7 separate regions of the Homo sapiens genome follow, and all the other regions are linked to region 5. Evidence: promoter capture Hi-C in 16 types of primary human blood cells and fetal thymus (Javierre and others, 2016). All regions are on one chromosome and are shown on one strand. Each heading gives the region's core, a stretch centred on a gene start or on the middle of the fragment in contact. The rest is flanking DNA. Distances are from core to core; before and after follow the strand shown.

Region 1 (2,960 bases), core at 305-2,804, 1.2 Mb after region 5:
AATATCTAAGTGGTGGGGAGAGAGGATGGGGAGACTTAAAATGGAATTAATTGGTGAGGCAGTTTTAGAACTCCAGCTTATTGGAGGCAGGGGGAGAGACAGTAGTGGGTTTGGGTTTTTTTGTTGTTGTAATTTGGCTTTTTTTTGCCCATACCAAGAATAGAATCCCATACAGGATTGTTCTTCCTGGGCACTTCCTCCCCTATGAGTTGAAGAATCATTCAAGGGAGTGAGTGAAAGTACTGTAAAAATGAACTGAGAATTTTTCGAAGGCAATTTTAAATTTTATCTCCATTAAAGATGAAAACCAAATATGTCTAGGATTAGACATGGGTCAAATTCTAGCTTTGCCACTAGGATGGAGACTGCCAACTATTCACAGTATCCTTTCTCCTCTTCTTCTTTGAAGTAATAACATGTCCAGGGTCCTGGCAGGGCCCATGACTGCCTATGTACAGCCTAGGTTTCCCAGCCTGCTTTGCAGGTAGATATGGCTGTACCATTATGTTTGAGCCAATGGAAGTGACATGTGCATCTTCTGGGTCCTTCGAAATGCTTTCATCCTCATTTTCTGGCTGGAAAATGGCAATGACTGGAGCAATGTGGGAAGCCATGGGCTGAGGATAGCAGAATGACCCTACTAGGCATGGACTCCTCCCTTCTCGGCTCTAAGAGAGAAATACACTTATCTATCTTACATAAGCCACCGTACTTCAGAGTCTCTCTGTTAATAGCAACCTAGCCTGTACCCTACTAATATAGCCATTTACTATCTGTGCTACTTGGGGCAAGTTACTTAACCTCCCTAAGCTTCAGTTTACTTATCTATAAAATGGAATCACAGCACTTATTTCATTAAGTGCTAAGAGAAATAAACAGGTTAAGAGATGTAATGTGCTCAGTCCTGTGCCTAACATGTAAAAATGTGCTCAACAAATGGTAGATAATGCTAGCAAAAAGAAAGACCTACTTAGGAAGCTTCTTTCAAAGGCCTTTGACATCAAATAGCTATTGTGCCCATAAAGCCTCAAAGGTAGAAATGTGTATCTGGTTTTGAGGGTTCCTATGGGTAACAACGTATACAGAGATAATCAGAGCTATCTTATATTTTAGCCCAGGAGAAGAATTAAGATTAAACAATGCTTAATTATAGTTTAGCAAACTGTGCCTAAATCATCAGTTATTTAAATCTTTAAGAGATCTTGCTCTATATTATTAAATGTCATACAATACTAGCTATTTCTTTATGCCTAGTTGACTACGTCCCATGTTTGTATAAAATATGGCTGAGTAGAAAGGTACATAATCTATGTTGCCAGACCACCTCATCAGGGTAAGCTGAGAAAGACACACACAAATCAGCTGGCATTATCCAGCCTGACGCAAAGAGTTCTATAGTCAATGGAGCCCATGGCCTACTTCTTCCTTGCACACATTTCCTCCCTTTGGACAGTACCTGTGTAAGTATCAATTATTGGCCCTCTGGCATTGTAGATTCTTTTTCTCTTTTGTTGGTGGCACATAGTTAGACTGTACTCTTACAATTTCTGCAACCTTGAGATTTGCTGAACACTGGAGTTGAGATCCTTGGAACTAAGATAAGACGACTACAGTGATTCCAGGGCTCTTATGGATTTTACACGTCACAAGATGCAGAACAACTACAAGATTACATCACCCAGCTGAGGCCAGCATCGCTGAAATGGCAGCAGGGATCATATTACCAGGCTCACCTCCCTCCATCCATCCTGATAATGTCCCGCTGCTTATAAGGGGAGGTAAGTTACTACGGGAGGCTGAACCAGAAGTCAATGATAAAAGATGGGAGTTCTGGTGTAATTCTATGCAGAAGCCATGCCTTAGGACAGAGAGGCCAAAGCTCAAGAACTACATCTATACAGAAGCAATATCAATATCCACAAACATAAACCTAGGAATAAAAAACCACCTCTGGTACACTGGTTTCAAGAACCCAAGGCTTTAGAACAGCAGCAAAAATCACTGCACTAGGGAAGCAACAAACAACTCAGGGCCTTCATTCTTGCTCTACTTCCCTGAATTGTTACTTACAGGTTCCCGGCCATCCATGGCTTCCATCCAGAGCCTCCGGTCCTCTTCCGACAAAGCTTGCATGGTGATAACCCCTGGCCTGCAGAGAAAGGAGGGACATGGATATGAAACCAGTGCCACATGTAGAGAGATTGGTGAAGGCAAATCTTAAACATCCACTCAAAAGAGTCAGTGGCTGCTAAGGTTAACAACACAAAGAGGGGCAAAACACTCGGCTTTACTAAGCCACCTTCTACTCTCAGAAAGGATGGCCCAAATTCCTCTCAGTCAGCCCATCTCCCTCAGAGAGGCAGAAACACAGAAGACATGATCCTATTTTACAGGTAAGGGACGTAGAGGAGTTAAGTGATGCCTTTAGACGTTGTTCAATTCCTTGAAATCTTATTCATTTCTAGACCTCAAAACGCTTAACAGAGTATTTTACTCACGGTAGAAATGCAATAAATGTTTGTGGAAGTGAATGGAATTACTGGACTCAAGATAAAAAAAAGAGGAGAAAATATCCAACCTGGAGGCATGCTTGTCTCCTAATATCTAGTCCACTGCTTCTAAACTGCTTCAGACATGGAGAAGTTTTATGGTGGTCATCATCTTGGTAGTTATGATTAAATGTGCACAGTATTTTTTAAAAATGAATACTTAATCATGTCAGGTGCTAAGTGCTTTACATGCATGAGATCATTTCACTCACTGAAATCTGCTTGCTCTCTAAAACTGAGCACAAGCCCTCCAGAAGACATGCATACAATATCAAATGGGTTTTGTTCAGTTCCCATCACAAATGGTACTCCGCAAGAAAAAGAGACTGCGCCATAAAAACGACCTTGGGAGAAGCGGCTGAAAGCCCTCTATGCCCATTAAAGCAGGAGTTCTTCATTTAGGGTGAAAAT
Region 2 (2,700 bases), core at 49-2,548, 1.3 Mb after region 5:
TTCTGATAAAGGCTAAGGGGGCACGCTGTCTCCATGGGAGGCCTAACAGCCTCCAGCAGCCCCAGCAGCCTGCAGTGCAGAGTAGACACCTGCCAGAAGAAGGCAGTGCAACCCCAGGCAGTACTCAGTCTCAGGATGCCATAGAGCCAGGGAAAGGTGGCCACAGATGAACTTCCCAGGGAGGGGTGAGTACTGGCTTGATGAAATGGTATAATGTTTTTTTAATAAAAGGAAGAGATTAAATGGCATTATACGGAGTATCATGCTGAGATTTAAGGATCTTGGTGCTAGCATTCCTGATCTTGAACAGGCAGCTCAAATAAGCTTAACACGTGGGTTTCATTGAAAAAATTAACCTGTTGCCAAGTAAAGTGTCTCAAAGAATTGGAATGTTGTCAAACTAGCTTAACACCACGAAATGGTACAACTTAATGAGAGACTCTATAAATCTCGAGGAATACAACACACGGCTCTCTCTCCAAAAAATTGTGATTTCACGAGTGGTTTGGTGTCTTTCCTGGGCACGCACACACACTGGTAGGTGAAATGTAACTAAAAGCTGTTTTTTTATTTGAGAAAAATTTCTTCCATTTCAATGCCTTTCGAATCATTATACTAACTTTTTCAGTTAAAAAAAATTCAAATAGCTGATACAATCATGCTAAATACTTTTCTTTAAAAGTCTACTACTCAATCTCCTGGAGATATAACACACATTTCTGAGCATGAAAGCACTAATATTAAAGTAAAACAAAACCAAGCCAGTGATTCAGTGCTGAACCCAAAAGATAGGGAGGTTCTAATGATTCTCGCAAATCAGCAATAGCCTGGATCCAGCACCCTGGACATAGATGAATGGATGGAGAAGGAAAGGAAGGAGGCAGGGGGAGAAGGAAAGGAAGGAGGGAGGGGGAGAAGGGGAAAAAAGCAGAAAAGGTTTGACTGGAAAGAAAAAGTAAGATATAGAAATTCAGCTCTATTTGCTCCTGAGAAAAGCATGCTAGCTACTCACCTGTCTACTGCTTCCACATCAAAGCAAAACCTCTTCTCAATGGAGTCTGTTTTCCGCCGTGTGCAGGATTTGAGGATAACTGATTCATCTTCTCCCTAGTGGGAACACACAGACTATCAAGATGAGGCCAGAATGGGAGCTCTACTCCTCCCAGGACATACATGACATGTAAACAGGAGCAATCATTTCATCTTCTCAAATCTGAGTGCTCATGACCATGGGCAGTGGAAGGGTGACTATAAACCTTTCCAGGACAAAGCCTCATGCAGCTTACATTCGTATACCATGTTAGACTTGGACCCAAACATCTTTAGTACGGGTGGATCATGATGGCACCGCATCTGTCCATGGTAGATAAACGAGTGTTGACATTGTTTTAATTTGCAGGTTTGATAAGAGTAGAAGAAGATGGTCTCCTCCTAACTCTGAGCTTCTATGATCTTGGGTTGGTCATCACTTCTCCAAAAAAATCTTCCTGGATCAGAACAAATATCCCCAGAACGTGTTCACAAAGCACCATGTACATCTCCCTCCATCACAGCACTGACCATAGCTGAAACTGCGCATTGATATAGGTGATGAATACAATAATGTCTCTCTCTCCATTAGACCACAGGACCCTGAGAACAGAGACTGGGTCAAATTTTGCTTACTTTTGTCTCCTGGGCCCAACTGGATCCTAGAAAAGAGTAGCTCCTCAATAAATACATTTTAACAACTTTACTGACATATGATTAAGGTATAAGCTGTACATGTTGAACTGTACAACTTATAGATTTTGATGTCATATACATCCATGAAACCAACACCACAACCAAGCCAGCAAACAATTCCATCATCCCCAAAAGTTTCCTTGTATCCCCTGGCAATCCATCCCTCCTCCTAGTACATCCCCAAGCAATCGCTGAATCTGCTTTCTGTAACTATTGATTAGTTTGCATAGTCTATAATTTTATATAAATGGAACTACACAGTATGTGCTCTTTTTGTCTGGCTTTTTTCACTTAACGTAATTGCTTTGCTATTCATCCACATTGTTGTGCATATCAAGGGCTTATTTCTCTTTATTGTTGAGTAGTATTCCATTGTTCAACTGAATGTGACAATTTCATCTCATAGCACTAGTTTATTGCCCAGAAACACAGAAGTTGCTGTCCCTGATTTCTTCTTACTGTCACTTAGGAATTTGTTAGGGTTTCTGTTTCTCCTGCCTCTGTCAATCTTTTTTATCTAAACTAACAGGGGAAATTAGCAAGCTTGCCCAGTTTGTTGAAATAACAGAAAGTGTGGCTACATAAGGTAAAATTTAACCACCCACTAATATCAGAAGAGCAAACAAAACACAGAAGGCCTAGGAGGAGACAGTTTATATTCACAGGCCTTATACCTATTGTCTTCCACTGAATAGCAAAGATTAATTTCTCAGACAGAACTGCTCTTTCTCTAGTCTGTAAAATATCTGAGTGCAAACACCCAAACATAAGAGATTCTGACTTTGCTGATGTCTAACTATAAATCTGATTTAATGGCTATGGACCAGCTTCCACTTTGAAAGATTACATGAGGTGTCCCAGAGAAATGGGAGGGAATAGGGATATATAAAGGATCACCAAATACATGCAGAAAGAGGAGGAAGATTAATATTCTGTTCCAAGGATGACCATACCATATCAGCAAAAATCTATAAA
Region 3 (2,733 bases), core at 38-2,537, 1.4 Mb after region 5:
AGTTGATTGAAACAGACATAAAATTCTCAGTTTCCTTAAAGAAAAAAGAATAATCTATCCTCATAAAGCCACTGGCTCATAGTTCTTTAAGGGAGGTAGCAGCACCTATTTAACATTCTTTGGCTCAAGAAATTAGTGAAACTCATAGCATTTGTTCTACACAAGTTTTACATGTTAGCAATACTTTTATTTTCAGTTTTCATGATTTATTTCATGCTTGCCACTTTTCTACCTAATATTCACTCTTTACCTTACTCATTTATTGAAAGTGCTTATATAACATTTACTGTATACCAGATACAGTTCTAAACACTTTAAAAATATTAACTCAATTAATACTTAGCAACCCTATTATTATCTTATCTCCCTTTACAGGGGAGGCAAGTGAAATGAATCACCTAAAATCATATAACTAATGAGTGGCAGAGCTGAGATTCTCAAAAGGTAGTCTAGCTCCAGACTTAGGTTACGTTTCTAGCAGAACCCCAATGTGCCCAACTAAAGAATTTAATTTCTTAGGTTTTCACACAGCTGGTGGTGGCCATGTGCCACTTTTCTGACCACTGAGATACACTTGGAAGTGTATTGGCTGGGGCTTTGGAAAGGTTTGTGTGTTTTTTTGTTCTTGTTGTTTTTTTAATAAAGAGACAACTGCTGACACACACCTTCTGCTTACTTCATTTCCCTATTCTTTTTGTCTTGAATGTGGATGCAATGCATGGAGCAGCAGCAGCCATCTTGCAGTCATGAAGATGAATATCACATGCTAAGGATGGCTGGATGGGAAAACAGAGGGAGCCAGGTAGCTTGGTGACACCCACGAGCCACAATACCCATCTCCAGAGTACCCACCTCCCAACTACTCATCACATAAAGAGGGAAAAAACAACCTATTTGTTTAAGCTACATTAATGGGGTTTCCTGTTACTCAAAGTCAAAACTACTCTAGTTGATATAATGCATTAATTATAAAACCTATTGTTTCACCTCCTCTTGGATTTTCAGCAGCTGCATTAATCCATGGTTCTTAGGCAGTTTTCACATTAGAAAATCATAGTTTTAAGGATGATTTCTTAAACATTAAAAGATGATATCTGCATTTACAGGGCAGGAATATGTATTAAATGAGGAAAAGTATTTAAGCAAAAGGACACTCTATTGATAAAAATAAACTGTTCAAAAGCTGATATGAAACCAGAAAACTATCAAAGACAATTTCAACAGAGACCCAGAATTATCTGGGTCAATAAAAATAATTGGCCTATTCTTCTATAATTGTTGGTGCTAAAATGACCAAATAAATTAGTTCACTTCAGTAACCTAAACTCAAGCATTCCTATGTGCCTTGCTCTCTTTCTTGCCTCTGAATCTTATACATGAGTATATGCTTTAAATGGACAATAGCATATTATAGATCCTGAGAAATCCTGTGTTAAGTAATCCTTGAGATTTTGCTTAACCAAGTATTTCTCGTAGTTCTTTGAGCACAGAATCCTGTTTTTCCCCCAAACATTACATCCTATGCATAGTGTTCTATAAAATGCATTTAGGAGGGTGTGGTGGCTCACGCCTGTAATCCCAGCACTTTGGGAGGCTGAGGCAGGTGGATTACTTGAGATCGGGAGTTTGAGATCAGCCTGGCTAAGATAGTGAAATCCCCTCTCTATTAAAAATACAAAATTAGCTGGGCGTGGTGGCGCATGCCTGTAATCCCAGCTACTCAGGAGGCTGAGGCAGGAGAATTGCTTGAACTTGGGAGGCGGAGGTTGCAATGAGCCGGAATCACGCCACTGCACTCCAGCCTGGGTGACAGAGTGAGACTCCGCCTCAAAAAAAAAAAAAAAAAAATGCATTTAGGACATAAACACTAACATAGACTGCAGGAATAAGGACATATAAGATAAAGCGATAATTTCTAGTCTTCTGTCATTTTAGTTATTGCAAAATAGGAAGTCTGTCATGAAGCATTAGCAAACTTTCTAAAGCAAGTGGGAAACTATCACTTCCCAACTTCGAATCCTTATTGATGGATGGGCTTTTCATCCATGGGAATTCACATTTCTTTTGATGGCTCCGGTTTTGAGATGATGCTGTGGTTTTTAGTGAGTGCATGTGTTTGTTGAAGGTGGCTTAGTGGCAGTGAAGAGGGCAATATTTCAATAGATAAAGTATTCTGATCTTCTTTTCATCTATGGAGAAGCCAGGATGAAAAATCAATGCTAAAATGGATTATCCTCCATCTAAACACAGGGCGAATGGGATACAATGTCTGTTAGGGGAGAGTGAATATTGGCAGATTTCTTTACTTCCCCATTTTCCTTTGTATTTCTTTTCTGGAATTTCCCATCACTATATTTCTATTTTTGACTTTAAAAAGTTAGTAGCTGTTGGCCGGGCGCAGTGGCTCACACCCGTAATCCCAACACTTTGGGAGGCTGAAGCAGGTGGATCACGAGGTCAGGAGATCGAGACCATCCTGGCTAACATGGTAAAACCCCATCTCTACTAAAAATACAAAAAATTAGCCGGGCGTGGTGGTGGGCGCCTGTAGTCCCAGCTACTTGGGAGACTGAGGCAGGAGAATAGCGTGAACCCGGGAGGCTGAAGTTGCAGTGAGCCGAGATCGCGCCACTGCACTCCAGCTTGGGATACAGAGCGAGACTCCATCTCAAAAAAAAAAAAAAAAAAAAAAGCTACTAGCAGTTAAATTCTCAAACTAAAGCATTCTATCAC
Region 4 (2,765 bases), core at 239-2,738, 1.3 Mb after region 5:
ACTTCCTGCTCTACCCTAAACCAGCCACATCATCTCTGGGCTACTACACTTCTCTCCTAACTGGTCTCTCTGTCTTCATTCTCTCCCTCTGCCCCAATCCACTCTGCACACAGGAGCCAGAATATCTTCCTTAAAATCTAAATCAGATGGTCTCATGGTCCCCTTCAAGGACTTCTCATGGCCTCTACCATGGTCTGCAAGACCCTGTGTAATAATCTGCCCAACCCTCCAGCCTCACCTCCTCCCATCCTAACCCACTGTCACCATGCTCCAGCATGGTGACATGAGTAACTGCTGGATCTCCTTCCTGTCCTCTAACACTCCAAACCGCTTTCTTTCCCACAACCTTTTCACCTGGTGTTCATTCTGCCCAAAAACCTCTTCTCCTAGATAAACACACATTTTAACTTCAACATAGAGTAAGAAATACTTTTTATATTATGACTCAATAAACACACATTTATAATGGTTAAATGCAATGCACTTTCATATATATATATATATATATATATATATATATATATATATATATATTTTTTTTTTTTTTTTAAGACGGAGTTTCGCTCTTGTTACCCAGGCTGGAGTACAATGGCGCGAATTCGGCTCACCGCAACCTCCGCCTCCCAGGTTCAAGATATTCTCCTGCCTCAGCCTTCCCAAGTAGCTGGGATTACAGGCATGCACCACCATGCCCGGCCAATTTTGTATTTTTAATAGAGATGGGGGTTTCTCCACGTTGGTCAGGCTGGTCTCGAACTCCAGACCTCAGGTGATCTGTCCACCTCAGCCTCCCAAAGTGCTGAGATTCCAGGCATGAGCCACCGCGCCAGGCCTTGTATTTTTCATTCTATTTTAGCCTACCCTATTGCATAACCCAAAAACTGTGATTTTGCGACACACTCACAACCTGAAGAAGATTGTCCTGGCCTTTCATTAGCTCATTCCTTCTGGGCTCAGTTTAAATGTTACCTCTTTAGGAGAGGCTTTCATTGACTATGTTATTTTAAATAGGTTACCAGGAAATCTCTGTCTCATCTCCCAATTTAAACTCTTATCTATTCCTTTCTTGAGACAGAGTCTCGCTCTGTTGCCCAGGCTGGAGTGGAGTGGCATGATCTCAGCTCACTGCAAACTCCGCCTCCTGGGTTCAAGTGATTCTCCTGCCTCAGCCTCCCAAGTAGCTGGGATTACAGGCGCGTGCCACCACATCTAGCTAATTTTTTTTTTGCATTTTCACTAGAGACAGGGTTTCGCCTTGTTGGCCAGGCTGGTCTCAAACTCTTGACCTCAAGTGATCCACCCGCCTTGGCCTACCAAAGTGCTGGGATTACAGGCATGAGCCACCGTGCCTGGCCTACTAGACTACTAGAATATAAAGTCCATGAGAACAAAGACCTCGTCTAATTTTTTCATTTTTCTCCTCCAGTGCTCAGAACGGTGTATGGCCCATAATAAACGTTCAACAGATGCATGCAGAATGAATGAATTGATCCCCATGTGGCCATCAGTCAGCACCAAAGGCATGTCCCATCAGTGACCCAGAACTAAGAACAAATGCATAACTCAATGCATTCCCAAAGGAAAAGGAAGAAGAAATCCTAAGCGGAATGTTATGCTTCTCTTGCCAATGCCCCAGAATGGTGTGGGCCACAGAATCCATCACATCCTTGGGCCCCCTGCAATGGAATTATAAGCCAGGATCCCAACCCACCCTGCAGACCGCTCAAGACAGTTTCCCTGCCTGCCACTTGAGAAGCTATAAATCTACCGGCTTGATTAAACCCGTCAACCATTCTGCGTTTCTTGGAAAAGAGACTTCCTCCTAGATTGTAATTTCCATGAAAGAAGATCCTTCATTTCACTTTCTACAAAACACCCAGTGCCTGGACAGACTTTTACAGAAGCGTCCAGTGAGTATTTGTTGAATCAATGACTACTGTTTTTGAGGCGAGCTTTTTTACCATTCAAAAACTATGCATTTGTTTAAATCATCCACTAGATGGCAGTGCCATTCCACATCACTGCCCTGTAGTTTCTACTTCCAGGGATCTAGGGATGGGCTGGAATTTAAAAGCATTCCGTGCAGAACCCTGCAATCAGGGAACAACTCTGGATAATCAGAGTGGAAGGTTTCATCAAAGGTGTACCACGTGCTCAACAATGTTCCTAAAAGTTGAATTTTTAATAAATGTGAAGAAAATGATCAATACATAGCTGAACACCTTGAGCAAAACACCTGACCCCTACGAGAAACTCAGTTCCCTCATAAAACGTAATTCAAGAAAGTTGAAATGGATGATCACTAAGGTCCTTCCCTCTCTCTAATTCTATATCATGACACTGGCACTAAATAACATGGTCAGCAGGCAAGAGAGCCTCAACATCCCTCCCCAGATAGAGACGTAGAAAAGCAAACTGGGTGAAGGGAAAGGGCTGCACAGCCAGTGCTGGAGTTAACTCGCTACCACTAAGCTATTTATCCTATCTGAGCCTCAGTTTCCTCATGTGTAAAACAGAGTAGTAACCACATCTATACCTCTTAGGGTGAGGATTCCAGAAGATTCCATGTAAAGTGCTTAACACCATACCCAGGCCATAAATATGCATTCAACAAATGTTTCCCTATATTATAGTTGCTATTGATGTGGTTAGTGGCAGTAGTAATATCATCACTGTTCTTTTTTTTGTTTGTTTTTTGATGTTTGGTTTTTGGTTTTTTTTGAGAAAGAGTCTCACTCTGTCGCCCAGGCTGGAGTGCAGTGGCG
Region 5 (2,715 bases), core at 106-2,605:
CCAGAATATAATGCAGTGGCTCATGATAAATTTTATTGCTATAAACCCTGAAGAAAGTTCTGCTCATTAGTTAATAGCATCTTATTTCGAGTCACAATATTCGGGATTCCACCATCTTGGGAAAGTGATTTAACACAGGAGCCAAAGCAATCATTTTCAAAAGAAAACAATTTAAACATCACTCATCAGTTCACAATCTTCACTTCTTTTAGAACCAACACACAAATCCCACAGGATATTTCCTGGCCCCTTCCTGTTATTCCAGCCTCAACTCCTATGTGGCTCCCCTCACTTGCTGTTCCAGTCACTCAGGTTCCACTTAGAAGAGTGGTTGACAAATTCAGCTAATGTTGCCCCCACCGCCCCCAAGGACATTTGGATTTGGCAATGTCTGGAGAGATTTTTAGCTGTCACAACTTGGTGGTGATGGTGGTGGTGGTTGGTTGGGGGGAGTACTGGCATCTAATGGCTAGAGATTAGGGATGCTACTGCTAAGCATCATGCACAGGGCAGCCCCCAATAAAGAAACATCCTGACTCAAAATGTTAATAATGCTGAAGTTCAGAGCTCGATTTTCATCTTTCCTCAGACCATGCTTCCCAGATCTTGCACACATTGTTCTCTTTGCCTAAAATATTCAGGCTATTTTCCCTTATCCTCCTTTCCCGTTGCCCTTTCTTCTCTTTTCTGGTCTTCTCTAACTCCCACTCACCCTTTGATAACCCTCTTATAGTGGCTTTACAGACTCTTCTTCCCAGATGAATGTTACTCTTTCAAAGAATTATGGAACACTAAAGAATATTAGTAGCAATTTCACATGCATTTGTATGTGTTCGATTACCCCTCTCCACCACCAACTCCAGGTGGGTAGATGTCACCTAGCTTATATTTACCACAGTATCCCCAGCAGCTAGCACAGAATGAATGAATACTTAATAGCTTCACTTACAAAAGGGAAATAGGGTAACCATCTCATTAGGTTGTAAAGATTAAATAATACATACAAACACTTTAGCACAGTGCTTGAATCACAGTAAATGCTGACACCGAGGCATTGTAGGCATTGTAGTTTGTGGACAGGAGAGGGGACTCCGTCTGTCTCATTTTAGCGCCTCCCAGTCTTCCTCCATCACCTAGGTCTGAGAAACTCCTCCTCCTACCTACGAGTAAGCAGCAATTGCTACGCCTGCGCTTTCCTGGTTCCACCCCTAACCAGGCTGCCGGAAGCACTTTCCTCTTTGGCACGGGCCAGCCGCAGGTTGGGTAGATACTGCGCAAGCTCCATACTCGTGTCTCCTCCTCCCGCCCACCGGTGCCCAACCTGCTAACACGCCTGCGCGAGCGGGCGTGCCCCGGAAGCCGTTCTTTGGCCCTGTGACACGTAGCAACGGGGCTGGTTCAGGGTCTGAAACAGAGTTTGGGGGTTGTTTGGGATTAGTGAAGCTACTGCCTTTGCCGCCAGCGCAGCCTCAGAGTTTGGTGAGTGACCCAGGCCCGTGGCACAGTGTTCAGCTTCTCTCCACACCCGTGCAAATGGGCTTGTTGCCGTCTTTCGGCGCCGCGCCCTGGTCCTTTCGCTCAGACCCTCGCTCTCATTCAAGCCCTTGCCCTGACGCGGTCCCCTGCACCTCAGGCGCGACCTTCCAGATTCTGCACTTTTTCCTGGCAGGCCGCAGGCCTTATTTTGCAAGGAAGCAGTCGCCTTGTCAGCTGTAAAGCCCAGTCCTAAGGTGAAAAATCATCTTTGTTGTTATTGATATTTTAGACCGCTTATGGAACCACAACTCCCACGACCTCGCCCCTAATGGAAGGCATATCAGCTCTTTAAGGTGGAGTTGTCTTACTGGGCCGCAACTTAAAAGAATATACATTTTCTTACTCTCTCTCCGCTACCGTCGTTCAAATGCTGCGTACTTTCCGCCCCCATCCCCTCTCCGAATTACTGAAAAAATATTTGTTGTGTTTCTATTTGCTTAAGCAGACTGCCAGGAACGAATTCAGTAGAACCTTGGGCATAAGGAATATTTGCCATTTCTCTTTTATTACAGATTATTTGCAATGTCAGGCTTTGAAAACTTAAACACGGATTTCTACCAGACAAGTTACAGCATCGATGATCAGTCACAGCAGTCCTATGATTATGGAGGAAGTGGAGGACCCTATAGCAAGTAACTTTTCATCTTTGGCAATTAATTTAGTCTACATTGCAGTGAAAACACATATTTAGAATATTTGGTTCTGCCTAAAACAATATGTGAACATGTCCTTTATCAGGAGTATGATCTTTCATGCATAATCTTCTTCCTCTAGAGAGATATGTGACACTGGCTTGGCTTCGAAGGTATTGTTCTATTTAAGAGTTGAGTGTCTTCTGCAAACTCTTCAGGTGTACCATGAATGGAAAAGTAGCTTGTTTGAAGAACTGTTTTCTAGTAACAGTATTTCTGTATTTAGAAGATGATGGGAGCTTCAGGTACCTAGGAGATAGGCTGTTAGTTCATAGGACCAGTGAAAAATTAAAGTATTTTGTTAGTAGTTAAATCAGTCCAACTCTGAGACTTTTATCAGTGCTAATTGAAAGTGCTTAGTGACATTATTTAATGATGTAAGCTCCTTATTACGAATCATCAGGCGATTTTCATACAGCAGTTGATAATCATTTTTATTACTCCTCCTTCTCAAACCCTTATGGTCAGTGCCACACGTGTTATAAGT
Region 6 (2,700 bases), core at 68-2,567, 1.7 Mb before region 5:
TTTTCACTATCTAAGTACATGGACCTGTCTTCAAGGAGTTCACTGTCAAAAGGGACAGAGGAGGATATATTAATTTTCATGATAAAGGCTTTCTTGGGGGCATATGGCAGACATTACATTGTAGTATGGGGCAAGATTTATATTTTAATTATAAATCCATGAAAGCATTTAAACTATTTAGAAACAGTTGTCTTTTTAAAAACAAGTAAATATTCTCTCCAGCACTCTTACTTCTCTGGTGCAGCCCTTTCCCTAATGCTAGTGTGGAGTGAAGTGTCAGGGAGGCCTTGTATCTTACACAAATTCCGAACTGGTAAAGCACGAGCTTCTGAGTTTTTTATTAGTCTAGGAAAATCAGATATATTATCTTCTAATCATTTTAAAATCATTGTGTAAGTATTTTTGGATTGCAGATAGATGCCAGCAATGTATTTAATGCCACACCACAGTAAATTGCAAGATAAAAACCAAAATCTTGAAACTTTTTAAGTCTTCAAAAGTGTTGATTCATTTGTTAGTAGCAAAACCAGCTACATTTATTTTCTACTTGCACAGTGCTAGGTATTATACTGTAATTAAATTGTTTCCTTTAATTCTTATAACAACTCTTTGAGGTAAGTATTTATTCTCATTTTACAGATGAAGAAACTAGGGCAGATTAAAGTGATTTGTCCAAGCTTCTCACAGATAGGATTCCAATTCAGATCTCTTGGGCTCTAAAATTCACTGTTTTCTAACATCGTGTCTTTAATTTTGTTTTTTATTTCTTTTCATTTATAAATAATTTGACTTATAAAACATTTCAAAAACAATATTGCAGAAACAAAGAATTCCCACATACTTTTTTCCAGCTTCCCCAAACCACAGTATACTTTTTAAAACCAGGAAATTAACACTGATACAATGCTATTAACTAACCTATAGACCCTATTTAGATTTTGTCAATTGTCCACTAGTATCGTTTTTCCAGTCTAGCATCCAATTCAGGACCCCACATTGCATTTAGCTGCCAGTGTCCTGCAGTGTAGGACGGTTCCTCAGTCTTTCCTTGCATTTCCGGACCATGGTGATTTTGAAGAGTGCTGGGCAGTTATTTGTAGTGTATCTTTAGCTGCACTGGGTTTATGCATACATTTGATGTTGTGATAAGAGGATTTTCCTCTGTGTTACAATGAAAAACTGTCTTTTCAAAACCTTCACTATGCCGTTGCTGATTATTGGGTCATTTTTGAAAGAAAGAGGCTGATGTGCTGTTGGTTGGCCTTTGTTTGGAACCATAGCTTTTCCTGGCCAGAAGGATCTTGGATGATCACCTGGTGGTTCATCACCCCGACCTCACAGATGGCAGCGTTGTAGTCTGCATGTCTTGGCTCGTTGCCCTTTGTTCTTTCTATTTCATCATCCTATTGAAAGACCAATGAACAGCCATTCCAAATACTTTTCAACTTAAGTACGTTTTGTCCTTGATCATTGAAATTTTGATTAATTTATAACTCGTTTCGTCTTGGTATAAAATCAACTTTGCTTTTCTTCTGAGATAGACTATGGTGTGGAGCTCATAAAAGGAATTTGGCATAGCTCATGGTGATTTCTTTCTGCTGCTAAACACCAAATCTCTTTTCAGCAGCCCCATCTCTTTGCATGTACATGTTTGGCAGCAGCCTAGATAACAGATTCCCTTAATGCTTATAACACGGGTATGTTAATATACCAGACTTACTGTAGGTCTTCTTTGCCTTCTTTGAAGGACTCTTCAGACAGATCTGTCAGTCACCTGCTTCCTTGTACTCTCTCTGGTAACCTCATTTGTAAATTGGTAGACAGTGACTCCTTTGGATGTCACTGACTGTTTCTGAGAGGGGAAGCAAATGTTATTAAAAAAAGGCATTGGCTTTTGAGCTTTTTGGAAAGTTCATATTTTAATAACTCTTTTAAGAGTAGGCTTTCTGAAAGCTTATGGGTTTTTTTTTCCCTCGGCAAATATGAATGCAAAATGTTATATCTTCATGAAGCTTCTCCCAGAAACATATTGAATATTCTGTAATTAGATGGATTCAGTTTCTTGCCTCTAACTTTTTATATATATGTGTTTGCTTTAATGCATATTCCCCCCCAATATTATGGAGTTCTTGGCTTATCTTTTAATATGTAAAAACTAAAGCAAGCAGATACAACAGCTTTAGGCACGTCTACATTTTACCCTTGTTAGACTGTTACATACATATGATATATACAGTGGTATTTGTAGTAGTTTCATGTCTTCGGGAAAGGAAAAGGAGTTAGTTTACACGTTCTGTGAAGAAATTAAAAATTATAAGGAAATGCAAAATGAAGTCAAATATACCTTTAAAAATCCCTTAAATCATCCATAAAGTAGTATAGCATACATGGCATATGTATGCAGCCTGTGGGATCGTTCTCTTGCACACTGCAGTTTGTGATCAGCTAAGCCAGGATCAAGAAAGACAAGGGCTTTTGGCAGATATCTGGGTCTTCAGATCACATTGCTTTCATGAGAGTCTCTAGTATGAAATGGGGATTGAAGAATCCCATGTGAACCTGCTTGTCTGCGGGCTTTACACTATTATATTTATAGCAGAAATACTCTGTATATTAATACTTGATAGGTTTCCACGCTTTGAGAAGGACTGAATGAGATCATGCGCATGGCAGCTTCTCTAGGATAGCACCCTGCGTGAA
Region 7 (2,700 bases), core at 193-2,692, 1.4 Mb after region 5:
ACTTTTTTCAAAGTAAATAAAGGGTGGTGAGGTGGGGCAAAAATAACAGAGGTACCCTTCACATGACTGATCATTAGTGACCACACTGCCCCCTTGGGCTCGATAAGCCTTCAGTTGCCTTTCCCACAGGCCTCTGCTCCCTCCCCCAGAGGCCCTTTTAAACTGCTAGCAATCTCCCCTTTGTGCTGTGGGCTGCCTGTTTCCCTGCCTCCTCTCAAAACAGTGAGCATCTAGGAGACAAGGACTGTGCCTGCTTCATGCCAGGAACCTGGCCAATGTAGCCTTCTACATCAACAGGAGCTGGAACAGAGATGGCAGAGGACATGTGGCATGATCCTGTCCTCTATCAGGGAAAAGTGCTAAGCTCTGCAGGAGAAGCTGCCAGAGAGAGATGTCATGCAAAACTCCCGACTCCCTCACCAGCTCCCAGGAATTCCAGTGCCCACCGGGAAGCTTCTATGATAGGCAACGTGTCCCCTAGACCAGAGTCACGGTCTCCGGTCACAGAAGGCAGAAGACTGCCCTCCTTCAACAAACCTGCCGAATCTCCTGAATGTTACACGCACCGCACAAAGATAAAAACTCAACAGCACCATCACTAGGAACACAAACAAGGTCTCTGGGATCCTACATTCAACTGATTTCTAGGTACAGCTGTCTCAGTTTAGGGAATGATTTTTGCTGTGGCTTTTAATCCCAGAATTAACAATACACACAAACTGGAAAGGGGAAAATGGAGAAAATTCTAAGTATTGTTTTATTTACAGAGACCATTCTGTAATAAACTGTCTAAAATGGTGAGTTTCCTTCCTACTCTAAAATCATGGTTTATCAAATTCAGTTCACTTAGAACTTTTCAGAAACACTGTTATGAAATACTTATTAAAATGAAAAATGTACATACCCTTTGGTCCAGCAGTTTCATTTCTAGGAATTTGTCACTCATGTGCCTCATGCCAGAGGTGCCAGGATGTTCACAACAACATTACTTGCAATGGTGAAAGGTTGGAAATAATCTAAATGTTTATTATTAGGGGAATGGTTACATACACTATATTTAATTCATACAATAGAATACAATGCAATCTAACAATGAGTGAGCTCTCTATGTACCAATGTAGAATAATATCTAATATATTAAAAGCAAAGGGTAAAACAGCACATATGGCACAATGTGTATGTGTATTTGTTGGCACATGCATAAATTACATCTGAAAAATACCAAAGAAACCAATAAAATGCCTCCAGAGGAAGAAGTGGGGATCAGGAGACAGGAAGCATTGGAGGGATATTCACATTCTCTTTTGTCTCTTTTGAATTATGAACAACTTATAGGTATTACCTATTTAGGCAACCCTTTTAAAAAGAAACATAGCTATGAGTTAAAGTAAAAATGCCTTATTTTATTTGTTCGACTAATATTCATTGTCTACCCCTGACCCACAAGTGTGATAACGAGATACGCAGTCAGGAATTTGCTAAGGCTTTGGTCCTATCTGTTTGACAGTCTCCTTGGCACAGAAACAGCCAAAGTTCAACTCAGTCAGCTTGGAGATCTATCTGAAGTCTCAGAGGAGGAGGCAGTTCATATTTTCAAAGTGTTCAAATTAGCCTGCAGTAAACTTAAAAGCAGATGTGACAGCAAGATCAGATGAGTTTTGAAACTTACCAGCGGTATCTTTTCAAACCATATAAAATAGGAGTTTTTTGAGCTTTTGCTGTGTGGCAGCAGCAAGAGTCAAAGAGTAGCTACTGGCTTGGCCCAGAGAAACCAGCTAGTTAACAGTTTGGTGTGGAATTCACAAACCCCTCAAACCTTTGTCTATCTGGCAAAGAAAACACACACACACACACACACACCACCCTAACCCCAGGAATCTCCTCTTTCTAAATATAGCAGGAAACTGCCCAGTCTCCAGCTTACCCAGGGCAGCATTCTGTGCCTTCCAATCAAGGTGAAATGAGCCAGACACAAACATGCCATGACAGCTCGTGGCCCACACTGCCAAGCTGTTTTCCTTACCATTTCCTCTCTCTCCATTCTGAGGTGCTACAAAAATGTGTAAACCCCAGTCACTATAATTTGTAAAAATTCCTCTGGCTGCTAATGCTGTTGTTCTCACCCTAAATAAACATGATTTCCTTCCTAGTCCCTGAGCCTGGAGGTTAGAATAGACTCTTAGATATGGGCAAAGCCCCATCCCATCTCCCATCTGACCTATAAGAACATGCCACTCAGAAAGCATATCAAGCAGTTCCAGGGCTAATAGGGACACATCCAATTAATTGTCATCTCTCTTTCCCTGGCACACATACACACACACTAAGTTTTTTTTTTTTTTCTATCCCTTGGTTGTTTTAAAATCAGTGTCAGTGTCTAACAGAAGGGTCTGTTAAGGATGCTTCTGATTTAACCAAAAGATTAAGCTTCAGAAACAATCTAACATACTCAAAGGAGCACCAAATTATCAACCGGCTACAAGGATGCAAAGGACCTAAACAACAGATGTCAAAGGGCTTGTAAAAACTGGAGCCAGCAACCATTCCACTTGAAGGAATCCATCTCAGGGAAATGCTGGAATCCACACACAAAAGCAGGTGTGCAAATAATCACTGCAGCACGCCTTCTAATAGTGAACAACAGAGACAATCCAAATATCCTTCAACAGGAAACTGAGTAAATACCAACTATGGCATATC

Evidence for each region. Contacts are between HindIII fragments. The CHiCAGO score rates a contact against its expected background, and 5 or more counts as called.
Region 1: a contact is called between a fragment that was not itself captured here and the fragment with the promoter of YIPF5 in region 5, in 5 of 17 cell types (total B cells, naive B cells, total CD4 T cells and 2 more). The highest score is 9.4, in total B cells.
Region 2: a contact is called between a fragment that was not itself captured here and the fragment with the promoter of YIPF5 in region 5, in 5 of 17 cell types (total CD4 T cells, naive CD8 T cells, non-activated CD4 T cells and 2 more). The highest score is 7.0, in total CD4 T cells.
Region 3: a fragment that was not itself captured here is called in contact with the fragment with the promoter of YIPF5 in region 5 in 1 of 17 cell types (fetal thymus); the score reaches 5.5 in fetal thymus.
Region 4: a fragment that was not itself captured here is called in contact with the fragment with the promoter of YIPF5 in region 5 in 1 of 17 cell types (total CD4 T cells); the score reaches 5.1 in total CD4 T cells.
Region 6: a contact is called between a fragment that was not itself captured here and the fragment with the promoter of YIPF5 in region 5, in 5 of 17 cell types (M0 macrophages, M2 macrophages, naive B cells and 2 more). The highest score is 14.0, in M0 macrophages.
Region 7: a contact is called between a fragment that was not itself captured here and the fragment with the promoter of YIPF5 in region 5, in 1 of 17 cell types (total CD4 T cells). The highest score is 6.6, in total CD4 T cells.

The regions. Positions count from the first base shown.
Region 1 is chr5:142,931,236-142,934,195 of GRCh38, reverse strand. It overlaps ARHGAP26 (Rho GTPase activating protein 26), which reads right to left. Exons shown (of 23, transcript NM_001135608.3): 11 at 2,071-2,149. Among named protein-coding and RNA genes, the nearest start is that of ARHGAP26-AS1, 64 kb to the right of the region's middle. The HindIII fragment of the contact is 1,148 bases long and covers 981-2,128 here.
Region 2 is chr5:142,911,606-142,914,305 of GRCh38, reverse strand. ARHGAP26 (Rho GTPase activating protein 26) reads right to left here. Exons shown (of 23, transcript NM_001135608.3): 10 at 1,013-1,107. Among named protein-coding and RNA genes, the nearest start is that of ARHGAP26-AS1, 44 kb to the right of the region's middle. The HindIII fragment of the contact is 1,944 bases long and covers 327-2,270 here.
Region 3 is chr5:142,761,905-142,764,637 of GRCh38, reverse strand. No RefSeq gene overlaps it. Among named protein-coding and RNA genes, the nearest start is that of ARHGAP26, 7.1 kb to the left of the region's middle. The HindIII fragment of the contact is 3,227 bases long and covers 1-2,733 here.
Region 4 is chr5:142,887,921-142,890,685 of GRCh38, reverse strand. The region is part of intron 5 of ARHGAP26 (Rho GTPase activating protein 26); the gene reads right to left. Among named protein-coding and RNA genes, the nearest start is that of ARHGAP26-AS1, 20 kb to the right of the region's middle. The HindIII fragment of the contact is 3,703 bases long and covers 1-2,765 here.
Region 5 is chr5:144,169,299-144,172,013 of GRCh38, reverse strand. It overlaps YIPF5 (Yip1 domain family member 5), which reads left to right and starts at 1,355. Exons shown (of 6, transcript NM_030799.9): 1 at 1,355-1,479; 2 at 2,049-2,168. The coding sequence starts at 2,059. KCTD16 (potassium channel tetramerization domain containing 16) reads right to left here and starts at 1,141. Exons shown (of 4, transcript NM_020768.4): 1 at 1,005-1,141. RefSeq lists an enhancer at 1,214-1,493. The HindIII fragment of the contact is 8,610 bases long and covers 1-2,715 here.
Region 6 is chr5:145,826,128-145,828,827 of GRCh38, reverse strand. The region is part of intron 1 of PRELID2 (PRELI domain containing 2); the gene reads left to right. Among named protein-coding and RNA genes, the nearest start is that of PRELID2, 7.9 kb to the left of the region's middle. The HindIII fragment of the contact is 1,276 bases long and covers 680-1,955 here.
Region 7 is chr5:142,778,585-142,781,284 of GRCh38, reverse strand. All of the region lies in intron 1 of ARHGAP26 (Rho GTPase activating protein 26), which reads right to left. Among named protein-coding and RNA genes, the nearest start is that of ARHGAP26, 9.6 kb to the right of the region's middle. The HindIII fragment of the contact is 1,974 bases long and covers 456-2,429 here.